3 separate regions of the Homo sapiens genome follow, and regions 2 and 3 are each linked to region 1. The links are contacts of gene promoters, found by promoter capture Hi-C in human tissues and cell types (Jung and others, 2019). All regions are on one chromosome and are shown on one strand. Each heading gives the region's core, a stretch centred on a gene start or on the middle of the fragment in contact. The rest is flanking DNA. Distances are from core to core; before and after follow the strand shown. Region 1 holds the start of GPRIN2 (G protein regulated inducer of neurite outgrowth 2). Region 2 overlaps SYT15 (synaptotagmin 15). Region 3 has its middle 41 kb from the start of NPY4R.

Region 1 (3,165 bases), core at 666-3,165:
GCCAGGGGAGCCTCCTTGCCAGGGCATGAATGGAAGAAGGGGGCCAGTTGGACAAGGAGTGATGCCCTGGGGTGAGGGCCAGCCAGCTGTGTTCACAGGTAGATTGCATGGCAGACATCTCCTGACACCCAGCCCCAAGAAGGCTTCCTTGAAACACACAGTGAGGTTCTTGGTTCTTGAGATGTCCTGGGAGCTGAGAGCCCCAGGTTTGGGGCCTGGATCTGGCACCAACTCTCAGTGTAACCACAAGCAGTCCATCCCTTCTTGGGGCTCAGCTGACTTCACTAAAGAGGGAATATGAGTAAGATGCCTAAGATGTGGAAGCAGAGGTCCTAATTCCTGGACAGGGGCAGAAGTGGGTAGTGGCCTCGGCAAACAAATCCCCTATTTGCCTCCTTTAAGCAGGATCCCCCTACCAGGCAGTGTGTGATGGTGAGGCCCAAGCCTGGGGTCTGACGTCGACACCCCTGTGGGCATTTGGCCAAAGGCAGCCATCTGCCAGAATCTGAGAGCTGCTCTCAGACCTCGCTGGAGAGGGCTACCTGGGGCAGTCTGAGTCTCTCTGGGCAGACTGAGGTCCTTTGCTACCCAAACGGGGAGAATTAGAGATACTGTTGGCTCCTGGGCACTGGAAGGGAGGAACGCAGGCCTCTCAGCACAGGGCTGGGCCAACAAGTTGGGGGTCCCGGCACAGGGGACAACGGAGAAGTGCCAACATTGGGACCCAATTATGTGATACTGGGGCCCAGAGATAGTACAGGTGCCTCATACCACGTGGCCCTGGGTGGACAGCAGGAATCTATTGCGAGTGGCGGGAGGCCGGGGCTGCCTGTCCTGCGCCCTGAAGCTGGCCAGCGGTTGTGGAAACTGGGGGATATTGAGGGAACCGTAGGCCCAGGTCCTCAGCCTCATAGTGTGGAACCTGGCGATCCCAGGGCCTGGGCTGGCCCCCGGCGTCACGGGACCGGGAAGGCGCTGTGGTGCTGCGGGGAATTGCGGAGAAGAAGGCGGGCTCCAGTGGAGGTGGCTCATCCCCGCACGGTCACTGCCCTCGCCCGCTGTTGGGGTCCGCGGCTGGGAGACTGAAGGCCTCAAGTCGGGCTGGGTAGGGGCACGTGGGCAGGGAAAGGGGTGGTAGATTACCAGTCTTCAGGGGCGGGGCTGGAGATGCAACCCTAGGGAAGGAGTCTACCAGGCTGGGCTCTTGAGGGGCAATGGAGGGCTCCGGGGGCCAGGCCAGGCCAGGATCATGGAGTTCAAAGGACTGGAGTGAGGTTTGGGGTCCATGAGAGTGGAGCTCAGAGGATGGGACGGTGGGTCCAGGATTTGGGACCTGGGGCTGGAAAGTCCGAGGCTAGTGGAGACCAGGCCTGGTATCCCAGACGAAAGGGCCCTATAGGAAACGGGGTCTCGTGGGCGGGATCTGGAGCCAGAGAATTGTGAGAGGCGGAGCTAGGATGGAGAAGGCGAGAGGAAAGGGGTAGCCGCCGGCGCGGAGACCTCAATGCGGGGCGTGGTGCGGAGGGGGAACTGGAGCGAGGGGCACTGGAGCGAGGGGGTGGGGCTACGAGGAGGTGGACTTGAGGGGCTGGGTCTGGGGCCGGAGAATCGTGGGGAGCTGCGCCTATACACCCGGGACGGTGGGGTTGCGTCGGGGAAGTGGGAGTCTTGGGGGTTCGCTGGGCAGCCTGGAGAACAGGCGGTCGTGGTGCGGGCGGGGCCGAAAAGACCGAGGACAGTGGGGACCCGGCCTGAGGAGGGGTCGGGAAGGAGGGGTGGGGGCGCGCGGACGCAGATCCCGGGCCGCGGCGGGGCGGTGGCAGGCTCCAGAGTGGCACGGGCCCAGGTGAGCGAGGTCTCCGCCCGCCGCCCCTCCCGCCGCCCCGGTGCCAGCTGCCCCGCTGGCCCCTCCCTGTACCCGGCGCTTGCTCCGCGGGCCGGGCCGACGGCGGCGGGCGGCGTCTCGCGCCCAGGCCAGGTCGGCTCTGGCTCCATCTTGGGCCGCGGCACCTGGCACCTGTGGCGGCCGCAGGAGCAGCGCTTCCCCCGCCTGCGCGGCCCCGGCGGGCGAGAGGGTGAGAGGCTGGCTCCGCGCGCTCCCGTTGGGGCGGGGGGCGTGGTGGGCGGCACCTCCCCCTTGCTGAGCCTCAGAACCCACTCCTTCCCGCTGCCTGCGCTCAGACCCCCGGCATCCTGGCCCCTGCCCAGCGCCCAGAGCCCCCGGTGGCCGCATCGCACTCCCCGCGCTCCGCCTCTCATTGTCCTGTCCTGTCCCCTCTTCTACGTCTCCTCTGCCCATCCTCCCATTTTCACAAGTCTGTCCGGGACCCTGTCTCCTTCGGCCTCCACCCCTGCTGCCATCGCTCCTCCCTCTCCCCTTCTTCCTTTTCCCCTCCCTCAGCCTACTGCGCCGCCTACCCCGCCCCCAGCCTTGCTGCCCTTTGGCTTCTCCTGTCCCGCATCATTACCCCGGCCCACAGCCCCATTTGCCTGCAGTCGCTGCCTTTGCTCCTGAGAAGGTCTGTAGCCTCGTTTCGGGCCCGTATTGAGCCCCCTTCTCCCTAAGTCCGGGTGGGCTTTGTGCAGGAGGGGCGGGAGGGGAGCTATTCTGGGCGAGGCTGCGTGGTGCGGTGCTTTCAGGCCTTTGGCCCCGCAGCAGGGGCGGCCTGTGCTTGGCGTGCAGAGTGCAGCTGGGTAGACGCTGTTACTGCATACGGGCCTGTGTGTCCCAGGCTGGGGCATGAGTGCTTGTGAGCGTGCAGATAGGGACACACCGGCCGCCTAGGCTGCTTCTAGGCCGGGGCACCCTCTCCACCTAGGTGCCCCCCAGGGATTGTGGGCAAATCCTCCCCAGGGGAGGAAGCTCAGGGGCTGTTGGGCGCCTAGGCCTCTTCCTGGTGAGCAGAGCCTCATCCATGGGGCCACTGACCCCACAGTTACCCCAGAACCCTTTCCTGGCACAGCTTGTGACCCGGGGCATGTAGCCCTTAAGGCACGTTCATTGTGAAGGGCAGGTTTTGTCTCCTCCAAACCCTCCCTTTAGGAATGCTGCCTGCTGCTTTGCCCAGAGTTGGCCCTGAGTGTTCCTATCAGGCCCCGTTCACTCTGGGGTGGATTAAACCACCTCCTGGAGGGTGCTGTATCCCCACTGTGCAATGGGGGTTT
Region 2 (3,099 bases), core at 135-2,634, 35 kb before region 1:
TGGCCTCCCAAACTGCTGGGATTATAGGCGTGAGCCACCGCACCCAACCCAGGCACACTATACTTAAACTGCTGCAAATGAAAGACAAGGAAAAAACAGTAAAAGCAGCTAGAGGCAGGTAGGAGGGACACATTTCTTCTTTTCTTTTTTCTTTTCCCCTCCCTCCCTCTCTCCTCCTTCCTGCCTCCCTCCTGTCATTTTCTTTTGTAGAGGGGGGGGATCTTGCTCTGTTGCCTGGGCTGGTTTTGAACTCCTGGGCTCAAGGGTGCTGGGATGACGGGCGTGAGCCAGTGCATGTTACTGACACATTACTCTCAAAGGAGAAACAATAGCACTGAAAATCACTTGTCAACAGAAATGATGGAAGTGAGAAGATAATGGAGTGCCATTCTGAAGTTCCTCAAAGAAAAAAGTGTCAACCTGTAATCCTATATTCACAAAATATACTTAAAAATGAATTTGAAATAGATGTTTCTATTCAAAAACTGAGAAAGGCTGGGTGAGGTGGCCTGTAATCCCAGTCCTTTGGGAGGTCAAAGCAGGCAGACTGTTTGAGCTCTGGAGTTTGAGACCAGCCTGAGCAACATGGTGAAATCCCTTCTCTACAAAAAATACAAAAGAATTAGCCAGGTATGGTGGTGCCTGCCTGTAGTCCCGCTACTCGGGAGGCTGAGGTGGGAGGACTGCTTGAACCTAGGAGGTTGAGGCTACAGTGAACCATGATCATGCCACTGCACTCCAGCCTGGGCGACAGAGTGAGACCCTGTCTCAAAAACAAGCAAACAAAAAAACACAAAAAAACCTGAGAAAATTTGCTGCCAGCAGATGTGCATACACAAAAAATACTAAAGGGAATTCTTCAGGTAGAAGAAAACTGATCTATGATAGAATCACAGAAATGCAGGAAATAATAAAAAAAAACAGAGTGAATATGTGGGTGAATACAAATGAATATTGACTGCACATAGCAATAATAATAATGTCTCGTTAGGTGTAAAATATATGTGAAATTAAAATGAGTAATAATAATATACATGCAAGAGTAGAATGGAGGTAAATAGAGATTGAGTATTGTGAGATCATAGCATTGTCTGGGAAACAATAAAAAGTAAAATTTGTATTAGATTATAATAATGTACAGAAGTTGTAATCTGTGGAGGAAACCACTAAAGAAATTATAAAAGAATGTGTAAGTAGAACCAATGGTAGGGGGGGAAACGGAATTAAAAAAATAATCAGAAAGAAAGCAACAGAAAAGAAAAAATAAAAACAAAAATGGGTAAGACAAATGGAAACAAGTAGTAAGATGGTATTTATGAACACAACTATATCAGTAATTACAATAAATGTAAATTCACGAAATACACAAAAGACAAAATTTGACAGACTTGATTAAAACAACTCTATTCAAGAGACATGACATCATTATAAGAACATTGAAAATTCAAAAATAAGGGGGAAAGTGAAAAAAATACCATTGTGAGTGGTAGAGAAAGCCATTTCACATAATAAAGGTTCACTCTACCAGAAAACGTCAATTTTAAATGGGTATGAGCCTAATAACACAACCTCTAAATGCATAAAACAAAAACTAACAAAACTCAAAGGAGAAATAAACAAATTCATAATAACAGTGGCAGGCTTTATCCTCTCTCAGTAATTTATAGAAAAACAGACAAAAATATCAGTAAAGATGTAGATAATTTGACCAACCTGATTAACAAACTTGACCCAGTTGAAATACACATAACACCTGCACACAACTGCAGAATGCACATTCTTTCAAGTGCAAGAACATTATGATAAGAATATTATAGGAAAGTCTGTCATAAACATAGCTTATATAAAAATATAACAGCAAATTAATCTAAATTTTATTTATTTATTTACTTATTTTATTTTTTTGTTTATACTTATGTCATAAACATAGTTTATATAAAAATATAACAGCAAATTGATCTAAATTTTATTTATTTATTTATTTACTTATTTTATTTTTGGAGACAGAGTCTCGCTTTGTTATCCAAGCTGTAGTGCAGTGGCGTGAACATGACTCACTTCAGCCTTAACCTCCCGGGCTCACGCAATACTCCTGCCCCAGCCCTCCAAGTAGCTGGGACAACAGGCATGTGACACCATACCTGGCTAATTTTTGTGGTTTTTGTAGAGACCGAGTTTCACCACGTTGGTCTCAAATTCCTGAGCTTAGACAATCTACCTGCCTTGGCCTTCCAAAGTGCGGGGATAATAGATGTGAGCCACTGAGCTCGACTTAAATCTAAATTTTATTTTATTTTATTTTATGGCCATGCTCCCTCTAATAAATCTAAATTTTAAATAAATAAGTCCAAGTATTGTTGTGTTTATGTGTATAAACCTGCGCACACACACAAAAGTGTACACACCCTGCTGGTTTCTATTACAAGAATGTTAAGTTTGGTTTGACATTCAACAGTCAATTAGTATAAGTCATCACATCCAAAGAATAAAGGAGAAAAATAAAATTATTTCAAAAGGTGCAGAGTAAGTATTTGAGAGAAATTTAACCTTATTTGTAATTAAAAAAATCTTTTTAACAGCTTGAGAATATATGTTAATGAGTACATTAAAAATCCTATAACAACCATCAAACTTCATGGTGAATATTGACAACTCTCCACATGCCACACCCACCACCCCTGAGATTGAGGATGAGACAAGAATACCCACTATCACTACTTATAGTCAGCATTCTGCTGGAGGTCCTAGCCACTGCAATTTGTATACCAATTTTATATCTTGCAACCTTGCCAAACTTATTAGCTCTAGTAGTTTTTTTGTGTGTGGATTCCTTAGGATTTTCCATAGACAAGATTATGTCATGTGCAGATATAGTTTTACTTCTTTCTTTATGATCTGGATCACTTTTATTTCTTTATCTTGTCCAATTGCTCAGCCACTGCAGTTTGGCAAGAGCTAAATAAGGCATAAAGATTAAGAAAGGAAGAAATAAAACTGTCATTCACAGAGGACATGATTATACAAAAATAATCTGCAAATTATTACAATTTAAATGAATGTCACAAAGCCTCTCACTGGATAACAAGGTCAACATAGTTT
Region 3 (3,307 bases), core at 481-2,980, 50 kb after region 1:
GCTTCAGGGGCCACTGGATCTTGTCTGGTATGCCCACTGTCAGTCCACCTGTGTATCAGCCCAGCCTCATCAGCATTTACAGAGCACTTACTGTGTGCTAGGTGCTGAATGCAAAGACAGAAACAAAGCATGCCCTGCTCATAGGTCAGTAGGAGAGAGATAGAAGCTGTCTTGGTTTGTTTTGTGTTGCTATAAAAGAATACCTGAGGCTGGGTAATTCATAAAGAACAGAAATTTATTTCTTATAGTTCTGGAGGTTGGGAAGTCCAAATTGAGGCAAGCCACAGACCTTCCTCAAACAGGCACCAGCCTGGTGTGGAAGACAGATATATATGTATGCGTGTGTGTGTGTGCGCACACAACACGGGAAAATTTAAAAGCATTCCTGAACTCTGCCCCACACCCTGTGAATCAGAATCTCTGAACCAGGTTATTATTTGCAAATAAACAAAGCTATAAGAAGCCACATAAAACAAATGCATGGCTTAATGGATTTTTACAAGAGTAAAGCTTTGTAACCACCACCTAGACTAAGAAACAGAACTTTGTCCAGAGGCACCTCCTCACTCTCTTCTCCAAAGTCACCACTACCTTGACTTACAGTAGACACTCCTTTCCTTTGCTTCATAGTCTAATTATTACCCACATGTATATCCCTACACCCTATAATTAAATCTCACTTATTTTATAAAAATACATCTTTTAAAAGTTGGTTAATACACAGGTTTTCCTACCCCCTCCCAAGACCCAGGTCATTTGATCTGTAGAGTTTCCAATAGTCTGGATTTTGCTGACTGCACTCTCATGGTGCTATTCAACATGTCCCCTGTCCTCTGTGTTTCCTGTAAATTGGTAGCTCATCCATGTTCCAGCATGTATCAGTACATCATTCCTTTTTATGGCTATTATTCCATTGTATATCACAATTTGTTTATCCATTCATTTGTTATGGAAATTTGGGTTGTTTCCACCTTTTGGCTATTGTTCATAGTGCTGCTATAAAGATACATGTACTTGTTTGAGTAGTCAGTGTCAGTTCTTCTGGGTATATACCTAGGAGTGGAATTGCTTGATCATACCATAATTCTATATTTAAGTTTTTGAGAAATCACCAAACTTTTCTCAGCAGTTGTGCCATTTTACATTCTCACCAACAATGTCTGAGGGTTCCAATTTTTCTACATTCTTGTTAGCCCTTGTTATTTTCCATTGAAAAAAATATATCCATCCTAAGTCAGGTGCAGTGGCTCATGCCTCTAATGCCAGCACTTTGGGAGGATAGCTTGAGGCCAGGAATTTGAGACCAGCCTGGGCAACATAGTGAGATCCTGTCTCTACAAAAAAATTAAGAAATTAGTAGGGCATGGTTATGCCTGCCTGTAGTACCTCTTAGCTGCTCAGGAAGCTGAGGTGGAGGATCACTTGATCCTGGGAGGTTCAGGCCACTGTGAGCTGTGATGGTGTCACTGCACTCCAGCCTGGATAACATGGCAAGAGCCTGTCTCAAATCAATAAATTATATATGTATTATATAATTTATCATATAATAACATTATTATATATACATATTATAAATAATTATATATAAATATTATATATATCCATCCACCTATTACATATATATACAGTGGGTGTGAATTGGTACCTCATTGCAATTTTGATTTGCATTTCCCTAATTAATAAAAATATTGAGTGTCTTTTCATGTGCTTGTTGGCATTTGTATATTTTCTTTGGAGAAATGTCTATTCAAGTCTTTGCCCATTTTAAAATTGAGTTGTGTGTTTTTGCTGATGAGCTGTAAGAGTTCTTTAAATGCTTTGGATACCAGACCTTTATTAGATGTATGATTTTACTTTGTTGGTAATTTTCTTTGATGTTCGAAAGTTTACTATTTTTATGAAGTCTAATTTATCTAGTTCTTCTTTTGTTGTTCATGCTTCTGGTATCATATCTAAGACTCTATTGCTAAAGCTAAAATTATGAAGATATACTCCTATGTTTTCTTCTAAGAGTTTTATGGCTTTAGCTCTTATATGTAGGTTGTTGACCCGCTTTAAGTTAATTTTTCTATATGGTGTAAGATGGGAGTCCAACTTCATTCTTTTGCATGTGGATATCCAGTTGTTCCAGCACCATTTGTTGAAGAGATTATTTGATTATTATTTCCCCCATTGAATGGTCTTGGCACTCTTGTTAAAAATTAATTGACAATACAGTTGGGCCTGGTGGCTCACATGCATGTAATCCCAGCATTTTGGGAGGCCAAGGCAGGCGGATCACTTTTAGCTCAGGAGTTTGAGACCAGCTGGGCAACATGGCAAAACCCCGTATCTACTAAAAATACAAAAATTAGCCAGGTGTGGTGGTGTGTGTCTGTAATTCCAGCTACTTAGGAGGCTGAGGCAAGAGAATTGCTTGAGCCAGGGAGGTGGAGGTTGCAGTGAGCTGAGATAGCACCACTGCACTCCAGCCTGGGCCATAGAGCAAGCCTCCATCTCAAAAAAAAAGTTAATTGACAATAGATGTATGTAGATAGATCATGGATTTATTTCTGGACTCTCAGTTCTATTTTATTGATCTGTTCTTATGCTAGTATCACACTGTTTAGATTACTGTAGCTTTCTAGTAAGTTTTGAATGTGGAAAACGTGAGTACTCCAGCTTCGTTTTTCTTTTTTCAAGATTATTTTGGCTATTCTGCATTCCTTGATTTTCCATATAAATTTGAGGATTGCCTTGTCAATTTCTGCAAAGAAGTCATCTGGGATTTTGATAGAGATTGCATTGAACTTATAGATTAACTCTGGGATATTTCTATCTTTAACAATAAGTCTTCTGGTCCAAAAACATGATATGTATTTTCATTTATTTTGATCTTTTAAGACCTCTTTCAACAATGTTTTATATTTTTCGGAATATACCATTTGGATTTCTTTTGTTATCTTTATTCCTAAGTATTTTTTGATGTTATTGTAAATGGAATTATTTTTCTAATTTCATTTTTGTCTTGTTCATTGACAGTGTATAGAAACAGAATTGATTTTTGCAAACTGATCTCATGTGCTAAAATCTTGCTGAATTCATTTACATATTTTAATTTTTTTGTGAATTGCTTAGGATTTTCTACATAGAAAAATCGTGTCATCTGCCAATTGAGACCATTTTACATCTTTCTTTCCTATCTGGGTGCCTTTTTTTCCCTTATATAATTGCAATAGTTGGAACCTTCAGTATGATGTTGAATGGAAGTGGTGAGTAGACATCCTTGTTTCTTTTGTGATCTTAGAAGGAAAGCATGTTGTCTTTC

What was found. Contacts are between HindIII fragments. The study calls those that stand out against the background at their distance.
Region 2: a contact is called between a fragment that was not itself captured here and the fragment with the promoter of GPRIN2 in region 1, in 3 of the 25 tissues and cell types used here (liver, spleen and stomach).
Region 3: a fragment that was not itself captured here is called in contact with the fragment with the promoter of GPRIN2 in region 1 in 11 of the 25 tissues and cell types used here (H1 embryonic stem cells, IMR-90 fibroblasts, bladder and 8 more).

Annotation. Positions count from the first base shown.
Region 1 is chr10:46,555,408-46,558,572 of GRCh38, reverse strand. GPRIN2 (G protein regulated inducer of neurite outgrowth 2) reads left to right here and starts at 1,915. Exons shown (of 3, transcript NM_001385282.1): 1 at 1,915-2,075. RefSeq lists enhancers at 468-1,173, 1,879-2,584. The HindIII fragment of the contact is 19,539 bases long and covers 1-3,165 here.
Region 2 is chr10:46,590,259-46,593,357 of GRCh38, reverse strand. SYT15 (synaptotagmin 15) reads right to left here. Exons shown (of 8, transcript NM_031912.5): 8 at 1,294-3,099. All of the region lies in intron 1 of SYT15-AS1 (SYT15 antisense RNA 1), which reads left to right. Among named protein-coding and RNA genes, the nearest start is that of SYT15-AS1, 6.3 kb to the left of the region's middle. The HindIII fragment of the contact is 7,676 bases long and covers 1-3,099 here.
Region 3 is chr10:46,505,537-46,508,843 of GRCh38, reverse strand. No RefSeq gene overlaps it. Among named protein-coding and RNA genes, the nearest start is that of NPY4R, 41 kb to the right of the region's middle. The HindIII fragment of the contact is 6,119 bases long and covers 1-3,307 here.